2 separate regions of the Homo sapiens genome follow, and region 1 is linked to region 2. Evidence: promoter capture Hi-C in 16 types of primary human blood cells and fetal thymus (Javierre and others, 2016). All regions are on one chromosome and are shown on one strand. The core of a region is centred on a gene start or on the middle of the fragment in contact, and the rest is flanking DNA. Distances in the headings are between cores, read along the strand shown.

Evidence for each region. The method cuts DNA at HindIII sites, captures the fragments that hold promoters and counts their contacts. A CHiCAGO score of 5 or more calls a contact.
Region 1: a fragment that was not itself captured here is called in contact with the fragment with the promoter of ADAM11 in region 2 in 1 of 17 cell types (endothelial precursors); the score reaches 5.5 in endothelial precursors.

Annotation. Positions count from the first base shown.
Region 1 is chr17:44,876,595-44,881,952 of GRCh38, reverse strand. It overlaps EFTUD2 (elongation factor Tu GTP binding domain containing 2), which reads left to right. Exons shown (of 28, transcript NM_004247.4): 7 at 231-266; 8 at 1,309-1,399; 9 at 2,315-2,397. Among named protein-coding and RNA genes, the nearest start is that of EFTUD2, 20 kb to the left of the region's middle. The HindIII fragment of the contact is 1,061 bases long and covers 2,139-3,199 here.
Region 2 is chr17:44,757,449-44,762,898 of GRCh38, reverse strand. ADAM11 (ADAM metallopeptidase domain 11) reads right to left here and starts at 3,911. Exons shown (of 27, transcript NM_002390.6): 1 at 3,639-3,911; 2 at 3,002-3,177. The coding sequence starts at 3,699. RefSeq lists an enhancer at 3,719-4,270. The HindIII fragment of the contact is 6,513 bases long and covers 1,137-5,450 here.

The sequences.
Region 1 (5,358 bases), core at 1,420-3,919, 120 kb before region 2:
TCTCCAAAAAAGTAAAAATAAAAAAATCCCTCCACACACCCAGGAGCATTTCCAGCTGGGAGGGCACTGGTCTCATTGTCTGTAATTGCTGTGGGGACACCCTGCTCTCTCTCTCTCTTTAATCTCAAAGAAACCCTTGAGCTGGGAGGTAGTGAGGGAAAGTGATTGATGGTTCGTTTGTGGGAGAGCAGTCTCAACTCAGGTGGTAACAACAGTTAATTTTTTTTCAGCTGTGCTATACTGACATCCTCTTCACAGAGCAAGAGGTAAGCATGCCTTGGGGAATCTGATTGTCACCTACACCAGACCCACCAGTAATAGTTTTGTAGGGAATGTAGAGGAGCCTTTATGATAGCATTTTAGTTCATATCCTACTCCTCTCTCTCCACTTCTCACATCCCATCTCCTTCTTCCCCCAGTTACTCCAGGGTTATAACTTGAAAAAGAACTGGGTAGGCAAGCTGTAGGTTAGGAGGGGAACCCTCCTGTTCTTGACTAGATTAAATTTGGCCTAATATAGGAGAAGTACTAAGAGGCGATGTCTGCATTTGTGCTATAAGTTACGCAGAAGCTCAACATGATTTTTTTAAAATGACATCATCCTTTAAAAATCCGCAGGATGAGTCCATCCATATGATGACCTCTTTCTAGGAGTAGCTTCTCTTTGAAAATGGGTTCCTATATCTTTGTGTTTCTCTTTTTGTCTTTCCTTCCGGATCTTTCTCTCTAATCTCTGACCCCTTCTGTTTCCCTCCTCTTATTTCTGTCTCTTTTTCCTAATGGAAGTTTTAAGTATAATAAGTATGGTTAACTAAAGGCACTTGGAATTAGTAAAGATAGATAGGCAATCAATGTTAGCTGTTATTATTTTATAATGTATTTATGTATTTGTTTGGAGTTTTAAAAAAAATGTTTATTTCTGTCATAGCTTTTATATTTCTTTTTTAAAAAAAAACTAAAATACCCCAGATTGTTTCTTTTTACTTTCAAGGTGCTCAGCTATTGTTTTTGTTTCTAATGTATAAAGAGGATGAGATTCTAGGACCCTGGATTCTCTGATAAGGCTTAATACTGTTTTGTTTGCAGTAATTCATTTTCATCTTTTCACATTTGAAACAAGTCCCCCAAAAATGGTGTCTAACACCAAGATATTTTATCTTCAAGGTCATGCTGGCTAGAGGCCTAGATAAAAATCACCCACTATAAGGAGAGGCATCAGTGTAATTTACTAGCAACTGGGGAGCCCCAAAAACAAAATGAACCCCTCTTGCATAGGAAGAGGTCTTGACCACTCTTTGTTCCTTTCAGAGAGGTGTAGGCATCAAAAGCACTCCTGTGACAGTGGTCTTGCCAGACACCAAAGGAAAATCTTATCTCTTCAATATCATGGACACTCCAGGTAGGACATCCTTTGGCTTTTGATTATTAGAACCTTGTCTTGGTTTTGCGTGTGTCCTCTCACTTTTCGGAGCAGAACGGAGCAGTGCATCTTTGTTTTTACATTCCCTCACCTTCATTGAAACCATTTTCCATTTTGACTCTCTCCTTTGTTTCTGACTTGTTAATTTAGCAAGCATCATACTCCAGGCCTTCTATTCATGTCTTTACTCTTTCGAATATTTAAAAATGTTAGGGAATTGTATTCATTTATTCATTTCAGCCTGTCAGGCCCCATGCTATCTGCTGGGGAGCTAAAGGTGAGTCAGAGCCAGTCCCTGGCCTTGAGTACTCTCAGTCTTTTGAAGGAGACTGGTGAACATCCTGATGACCTTGGGAGCAGCGCACCTTGGCTGACTCTTCCTCCTATGGAAAGGACCAACTGGGGCAGAGTTTTTAAAAACTGGAAGGTTTTAGGTTTTGGCTGATTTGCTTTCTTGGCACCATCTGATGCCCAGTGTCCTGATACCTCTCAGCCCCTGCCCCCATAGCACCTTGCCAGGAACTGCCTTCCTCGAGCAGCACACTGTGCTCCAGGCCCTGCTTTGCCCTTTCTCCTGCCTCCAGATTGTCTTGAATCCCACAGAACTCTACTTACTGCTGATTAGGCTAAGCTGGTCTGTGTGTGTGGACTCATGCTCTCCTGGGCATGAGTCCCAGGAGTCCCTCTTTTTATGTAGGGAGCCTCCCGTAGGAAAGCTTAATGCAAGGATATGACACTAATGGGGGATATTTTTACCCTGTGGGGGGTTATGGCGAGGAGGAAAGGGGATATTCGGAGGTTCACGGGCTTTGAAGTGCCCCCTCAGTTCACCCTACCAGTTAATTGTGCTTTATCCTGCACCAAGTGATGACTTACTTAGTATTTGCTTTTCAGGACATGTGAATTTCTCTGATGAGGTCACAGCTGGCTTGCGCATCTCAGATGGAGTGGTCCTTTTCATTGATGCTGCTGAGGGGGTGAGTCAGACTCAGCTCCCAGAATCTCATCCACCTGTTATGTTTGCCCCCACCCCGCAACAATACCCAGAGCACTGAGTGAGCTGGGAGCCAGAGAACTTGAAACTCTCTGGGATTAAGGCTCAAATTTGCTCTAAAATTAAAGCAGCAAATGTTTCAAAATTAATTCTTACCGGGTGTGGTTGCTCACACCTGTAATCCCAGCACTTTGGGAGGCTGAGGTGGGTGGATCACCTGAGGTCAGGAGTTCGAGACCAGCCTGGCCAACGTGGCGAAACCCCGTCTCTACCAAAAATACAAAAATTAGCCAGGTGTGGTGACCCATGCCTGTAATCCCAGCTACTCATTAGGCTGAAACAGGAGAATCACTTGAGCCTGGGAGTTGGAGGTTGCAGTGAGCCGAGATTGCGCCACTTCACTCCAGCCTGGGTGCTAGAGTGAGACATTCTCTCAAAAAACGAAGAAAAAAATTATCAATGTGGGTGCCCTTGCTTCCTGCTCAGTGAAGCTCAAAATGATAAGACTCATTGCTATTCAGAAAACACAAAGATAAAATGACAAATGTAAATAAAAGGAAGGGAGGAGTGTATGTTCTTGTAAGTGGATTTTTAATATTAGTTGTGTTTTTCCAAGAGATTGGAGTTAAAATACCAGGGTGTCTTCTGTATTCCTCAATTGAGAGATGGAACACTTTGGCTAACCTTATTCGTGTTATCATTGGTGAGACAGCCAGCAGAGGGAGCCAGAATTGTCTTTTTTTAAACTGACTTTTCATTTTGGAATAGCAGCAAACTGAAAAGCTTCAAGAATTGTTCAAAGAACCCACCCTCATTTACTTCGTAATTCTCTCTCTGTACACGTTCAGACACACACAGAGAGACAGGTGTGTACATTTTCCCCTTGAACTGTTTGAAAGTAAAATATTTCAGAATGTATTTTCTAAGAATAAGGACATTCACCTATGTAACCACAGTACAGTTGCCAAAATCAGAAAATTTGACATTGATACAGTCCTGTTGTACAGATCTTTTTTTGCAGACCTTATTCAGTTTTATTAATCATACCAACAATTTCCGTTATAGAATTTTTTCCCCTAATCCAGAGTGATGCATAACATTTAGTTTTCATGATTTTCAAGTCTCTCTGAATTGAAGCTGTTCTTTAGCCTCTCTTGGTCTTTTATGACATTGACACTTTTGAAGAGTACAGGGCACTTATTTTGTAGAATGTCTTTCAATTTGGGTTTGTCTAATACTTCCTCGTGATTAAGCTCTGGTTATTAGAATCTGGTTATTCTTCTCCTTATCAAACTTTATCTACTAGTTTTGTCATCTATTGATGATTCTTGGCTTGTTCCTACAATAGTTGCAAATAGTGAGTCTTCTAACTCTTCTTATTCCTTCTGTTTTGTTTTGGTTTTGAGATGGAGTCTTGCTCTGTTGCCCAGGCTGGAGTGAAGTGGTGCGATCTCAGTTTACTGCAACCTCTGCCTTTTGGGTTCAAGCAATTCTCCTGTCTCAGCCTCCCAAATAGCTGAGATTACAGGTGCACGCCACCACACCTGGATAATTTTTGTATTTTTAGTAGAGACAGGGTTTCATTCACCATGTTGGCCAGGCTGGTCTCGAACTCCTGACCTCAAGTGATCTGCCCACCTAGGCCTCCCAAAGTGTGGAGATTACAGGCGTGAGCCACCGCTTCCAGCCATTGTTGTTTGTTGTTGTTGTTGTTGTTGTTGTTTTGTTTTTTTGAGATGGAGTCTTGCTCTTCCGCCCAGGCTGGAGTGCAGTGGCGCAATCTTGGCTCACTGCAACCTCTGCCTCCCAGGTTCAAGTGATTCTCCTGCCTCAGCCTCCCAGGCAGCTGGGACTACAGGCGCCTGCCACCACACCTGGCTAATTTTTGAATTTTTTGTAGAAATGGGGTTTCACCATGTCGGTCAGGCTGGTCTTGAACTCCTGACCTCAAGTAGTCCACCTGCCTCGGCCTCCCAAAGTGCTGGGATTACAGGCATGAGCCACTGCGCCTGGCCTATTGGTTGGAATTATGTTGTAAAGAAGTGCTTTTGTTTCTCCCCCATTTGCTTATTATCACTGTGGATATTTGGGTTTGCATTTTATTCAGTGAGTTATAATCTGTTACTGTCCTTATGGATTCCGGTGCTCTAGTGCTCTTGTCCCAGATTTGGCTACTGAGAGCTCCTTCAGGCTGATTCCATCATCTTTTTCACGCCTCATCGTTTTTTGAGCACTTCCTTACTTTCAAGCACAAAAAGATGTTCTAGACGTTATCTTTCCTTGTCCCAATCCTGGACTCAGCCATTTCTTCAAGGAGCTCTGGCTTTTTTTTTTTCCTTCAAAGAGATGGCATCTTGCCCTCTGGCCCAGGCTGGAGTGCAATGGTACAATTATACCTCACAGCAGCCTCGAGCTCCTGGGCTCAAGTGATTCACTCACTTCAGCCTCCCAAATAGCTGGGACTACAGGTATGTGCCAACATGCCCAGCTTATTTTTAAATATTTTTTTGAGAGATGGGGTCTCGCTCTGTTGCCGGGGATGGTCTTGAACTTCTGGCTTCAAGCAATCCTCCTGCCTTGGCCTCCCCAAAATGCTGGGATTACAGGTGTGAGTGACTGCACCTAGCCTAGCAGCTCTGGCTCATAGTGGGGAGTAGTTTTTTTTTTTTTTTTTTTTTTTTTTGAGACGGAGTCTCACTCTGTCGCCCAGCAGGCTGGAGTGCAGTGGTGCGATCTTGGCTCACTGCAAGCTCTGCCTCCCGGGTTCACGCCATTCTCCTGCCTCAGCCTCCCAAGTAGCTGGGACTACAGGTGCCTGCCACCACGCCCAGCTCATCTTTTTGTATTTTTAGTCGAGACAGGGTTTCACCGTGTTAGCCAGGATGGTCTCGATCTCCTGACCTCGTGATTCGCCCACCTCAGCCTCCCAAAGTGCTGGAATTAC
Region 2 (5,450 bases), core at 2,662-5,161:
TTGGCCACTGTGAGCCAATGCACCCAGTCTAATTTCTCCAGCTTCTAATTCCTTCTTGGCCGCTATATCTCTTCCCCTGTCCCAGTCGCACCCCCACCCTTGCCCCTGTCAAGCCAGGAATCCTCAGCACGTAAAGCTCTTTCCCATCACCACCTCCTGGTAGTAGGTGGGACTGAGATATGTTACCATCCTGATTTTAGGGAACAGGAAACTGGGGCTCAGAAAAGTCAAACGACCTGCCCAAAGCCACAGCAGCTCAGCGCCCCAGGCCCTGCCAGCCAGCATGTGCCCCTGGACTCGACACATGACCAGAGATCTTGCTGCCAGCTCCACACCGGCTAGGCTTGAAGTTCCAAACCAGGGCAGTAAGTTAAGGCAAAAACCAAGCAATGCCCAGCTGGGGTACTTCTGGCTAGGACACACACGGGCTCAAGTCCACACTGGATCCACCATCAGACCCCATGGCTCTGAGGCCAAAAGCGCTCTAACCCCAGGGAGAAATGCCAGGCAGGAGATTGAGGGTTTGCCATATCTCCTTACCGTTGGGGAAAATATTCTGGATGTGTCTTTTTGTCTCCTTGCTCTGGGCAGAGTTGGGAGACTGCCTCCTGGACCCAAATCCAGAGAGCCCTGGAGGCAGAACTGGGAAGTGCCCTGGTGTGGAGAAAACTCCCACCTCCACTGCTTAAGATCTGATTGACTTTGGGCAATTTACGTCATCCCTCTGAGCCTCAGTTTGCTCATCTGTAAAATGGGGCTGACAAAAGTTACAAGCTGCCAGGCGCAGTGGCTCACGCTTGTAATCCCAGCACTTTGGGAGGCCGAGGTGGGCAGATCACCTGAGGTCGGAAGTTCGAGACCAGCCTGAGCAACATGGAGAAACCCCATCTCTACTAAAAATACAAAAAATTAGCCAGGCATGGTGGCGCACGTCTGTAATCCCAGCTACTCGGGAGGCTGAGGCAGTAGAATTGCTTGAACCCGGGAGGTGGAGGTTAGGGTGAGCAGAGATCACGCCATTGCACTCCAGCCTGGGCAACAAGAGCAAAACTCCATCACACACACACATAAACACACAAAAGTTACAAGCCTTACAGAGTTGTGAGAAATAAGTGATGTAGAGTGCATACAAAGCTTGGCAGAGTGGCCCATAGAAGTCCACAGCTTTGGTACCTCAGGGGAAACTGAGGCACAGATAAGAGAGGGCCCCAAACAAGTCCCTTGAGGAGGTCGCCATGAGGGCCCTAGGAAGTCTCAGTCTCAGAGAGACCCCAAAATTGGAGATAATCACTGCCCGGCAGATCCATGGAACTCCATTCCCTCCCCGCAGGCTCTCAGACACCCCTCAGAAGTATCTGGAATCGGTGGATCACATACACACCTCACATGCACTCACTCACCTGCAGAACAACACAGAGACCCCCAACCCAAGCAGTTCAACTGCACCCATCCTGACCTTCCCACGCAGCTGCAGACACCACCACAGCCCAGAACCTCCTACCCTTTGCCACCTCTGTCTCTGTTCGGAAAGGGTCAGGCTGAAGGAGCAACCTGCCCAGTTGGAATACCTGACTTTTCATCCCTACCTGACTCCAGGCTTTTCCTCAACTCTGTCCCCTTTCCCTGCGGTGACATCCCTCCATGACTCAATCTGCACATCCCTTAAAGCATAAGCCAGAGTCCCAGCAGTCGGGCAGACCATCAGTTCCCCCACAGTGTAACCACGGGGTGCACAGTTCACAGGTAGGGAGTGACACCAGGCAAGACAGCCAGACTCAGCGGCCAGGACACCCCATCCCCGGCCCTAGGACTGCACACCTCCCAGGGAGCCTGGGCAGTTGCTGAAGGCAGCTTCCACCCCCCACCCCACCCCCAGTGACTGCGGGCCTTGGACCATTAGCCCCCTCCCCCTGCCCCTCTGCACGGCCCTGAGTGATGGTCCATCTATTATGCATGCTCCCTTCCTGCTCCATCCATTTCATCAGTATTCTCCACCCCTGCACCACCCCGCATCCCCCTCTGCTCCCCTCCCTTAAGGGCTTTTAACCAAGTACATTAGGCAGGGCCAGATGCCAGTCTGACAGATGTCCGTAATGTTAGCCTCCGTTTCCCTCCTTCCTCCCTCTGCCCAGCCCAATTTACCTCCCACCACTCCCCGCTGCCAAAACTTCCCAGGCCTCAGTTGTACCCCTCTTCTGGGTCTCCCCCCTATACCTCCTGTTTGTGCCGGGCCTTTGCCAGCCAACCTGCCCTCTGCTGCCCTGTTGGCCTGGCTCACTTTCAGCTCCAGCTCTTGGAGCGCTGGGGTGTGCTGAATGAATATTCCATCTGGGTGATTATTATTCACATGATATTAATTAATTATTAATTGCAATTAATCTCCTTCATGCCTAACCTTCCTCTGGGAGGCAGGAGGGGCCTGGCAGCTGAAAGGGACAGTGGGCAGGCAGGTAGAGCTGGCTTGGGGCCTCAAGTTATTTTCCAAGGCCCCACCTTCAGCCAGGACAGGAAGAACAACAAGCCTATCTGGGCACTGTGTGGAAACTGAGGCAGGAGCAAGCACTAAGTTGTTCCAAGAAAGCCCACTAAGGTGGCTGTGGTGAGAACCTGAGAGCCCTAATCCCTGACTGGAATCTGGGCTGCCTCTCCCTGCCCCCAACTTGCCCCATCCAAGCCCTGTTTTGAACAGAACAACTAGCTTTGGCCAGAGCAGAGCAGGGGGCCATTGGAAGGCTGACCCAAAGCAGACCTGAGACCTAGGCATTAGTGGTCCCTGTACACTGAGGGCAGGGGACCCTACAATAATGGAAGGGGGCCCTGGGGCTGGGCAGGCCTGGTGCTCCCCACCAGTGGGCTCCAGCACCCACCGGATAGCCCACTGTACAGAAGGGGACCCTGCGGGGCAGCTGCTGAGGGGGACTCCAACCCTGGTTACCCCGTGGGCTTCCTGGGGCTCTGAGGCCTGCTTCAGCCCCTGGCCTCACCACCCAGCCCCACTCACCGGGCCCCCTGGTGGCTCCTGGCGGACCCTTGTGTCCAGCTGCTGCTTTCGGACCTCTCCCCCGGAGCTCTCCCTAACCAGACGGCTGGGTTCCGTGACCTCAGGGGCTCCTGGGCCTCCCAGCTGGGGTAAGCCCCCCCATCGCAGAGCTCCAGCAGGACCTTGGGTCCCAAGACCTGGGGAAACAAGGCCATGGCTGCAGGCAGCTGCCCACCCTGGGGCAGAAGACTTGGGAATGGGGTGGGCATGCCTCATCCCCCACTCTGGTGTGGCCCCTGGAGCCCTAGGGCGATCCGGGTGGGAGGATCTGGCTGCCCTGCAGAGGCAAGAGCCCGCGGGGAGGGGGCCAGGAGCTTCACTCCCGCCCAACCGTCACGACTGCCCCCCCATCCGCCCAAACCCGCAGAGACCTGCAGAGCTGGCCGGTCGGCGGCAGGGGCAGGGACGCGGTGGGCCCGGCCAGCTGGGGACAGGTGGGTGGACGCACCTTCCCTCCTCTCCCGCTCCCCTACCCTCCCGCGCTCCGGACCGGCTGTCACCCCGAGCACTGCAGGAAAAGGTGGCTGCAGCAGCAAGCGCCGCACATCCCGGGGCGGGGGCAGGGAGGGGGCGCCGGGGCCGGGCGGGGGTCACTCACCGGGCGTGGGGAGCAGCGACAGCAGCAGAGCCGCGAACGCCCAGCGCCGCAGCAGCCTCATGGCTCGCTCATTCCTCCCGGTCCGGGGGCTGCGGCTGCCAGCGGCGCGGGGAGGGCGGGAGCAGGGACGGGGGTGGGGAGGCGCCAGCTGCGGAGCCGGGGCGGGGGCGCGGGGCCGGGCGGGGGTCGCGGAGAGGTGGGGGCGGCAGGGACGGCGCCGGGGCTCAGCGCGCTCCGGCCGCGGCCATCCCGGCGGGGCGGCGGGGCCGGGTTAAGAGCTGAGCAGCGAGCACGTGAGCCCAGGGCCCGCCCTCCGCTCTCCCGCCGCCCCCCGGCCCCCCCAGCCCCGCAGGGCCCGGGCCGCCGCCGCGGCAGGACAAAAGAGGCGCCGCCCCGGGGTCCCTCCTCGCACCTCGAAGTCTCCTCGGCAGGTGCGGGGCGGTGGCGCTCCGCGTACTTATCCCGCGGCCTCTCCTCGGCCACCTCTGCCTGAGCATCTCCGAGGACTCGTAGATTTGTAGGGGAGGGAAGCAGGGGACGGGGTACCCCCGGGGTCGACCCGGCGACTGCCTGTCTGGGGCCCGGGGGCAGGGGCGTGGCTGCGGCGCCCACGTTCGCCCCTCTGTCGTGGTACCCCAGAGAGGCTGCCCCAGCCCCAGCTTGGAGCGCCCCGCTTGACCCCAGGCTGTGGAAGCTGGGGTTGGGGTGGGCAAAGGCTCTTGGCGAACGCCGGGCTCTACGCCTCTGGGATTTCTTGCACCTTCGCTACGGGTCGTGTCACTGCGGAGTCCTCTCACGCCCGCGGTACAGACCCCTTCCCATCGGCTCCTTCTCCCCGCCAAAGATGCCCCGGCCTCCAGGAGGGCTTCAGGGATCGCTGTCACTCCAACCATCAGGAAGGGCTGGCATGTCCGTCTGGGTTCCTGAGTCTCTCACAGGCGTCCTGTCCTTCCTCCTAGATAAAATATAAACTAGCCAGGTCACTTATATGCTGCTAGCATGCCCCATGGCTCCCCCTCCCTTGCTAGTCCCAATCCTTAGGAGCAGAAGACACCTCTGGAGCCCCCCAGCATTCCCTCTCTGGTCAGACTAGGCTGCCCTGTCTGCAAAATACTTGACCTCCCAACCTACATTCCCAGCTGTGCCCTCCACCCAGCTCCTGGGGATGTTGGGTCCCAATACCAGGGCTGGGACCTCAGACTTCTGCTAGGGGTGCTGAAGGCCAGATACCTGAGATGGTGTGGGGTGTGGTAGGGCATGGTGGGTGGGCCGCTGAGTCCCCACCCTGACCTTTTTGGTACCCATGCTAGGGGACCACAGGTTGCTGAAGAACAAGATTGGAGGCAGGAAACCCCTTCCTGGGTCCTCTGCTTCCGCAAGGACCCAGGGCCTCTGCTGGGGATGAGGGAACTGCCTCTAGCTTGTGACACCCCCACCCCCCGCTCTATTTTAGGCCCAGGAGAGGTGAGAAGGCGATTTCCCAGGAGGCGCTGACATCAATGTAGGGAACCAAGTGACTCCCCCCACCCCCAACCACCTGCCATGCCAGGCCCAGATGCTCAGTAAGGCTGAGCCAATTCTTCCTTCGCTCTGGAGACATCTTGAGAACCTCCTCCAAGATGTAGGCATGAGGAGGCTCCTGGGAATGAGGGCCTACTAGGTGGTATTCCTGGAAACTCATCATGAGCCCAGAGGGAGAGATTGTGCTCCCCATTTTACAGATGGGGAAACTGAGGCTCTGAGAGGTTATGTGAGCTTCTCAAAGTCACACAGCTGGTGAAAGGCACATCCCATACTCCATGGCCCCACTCC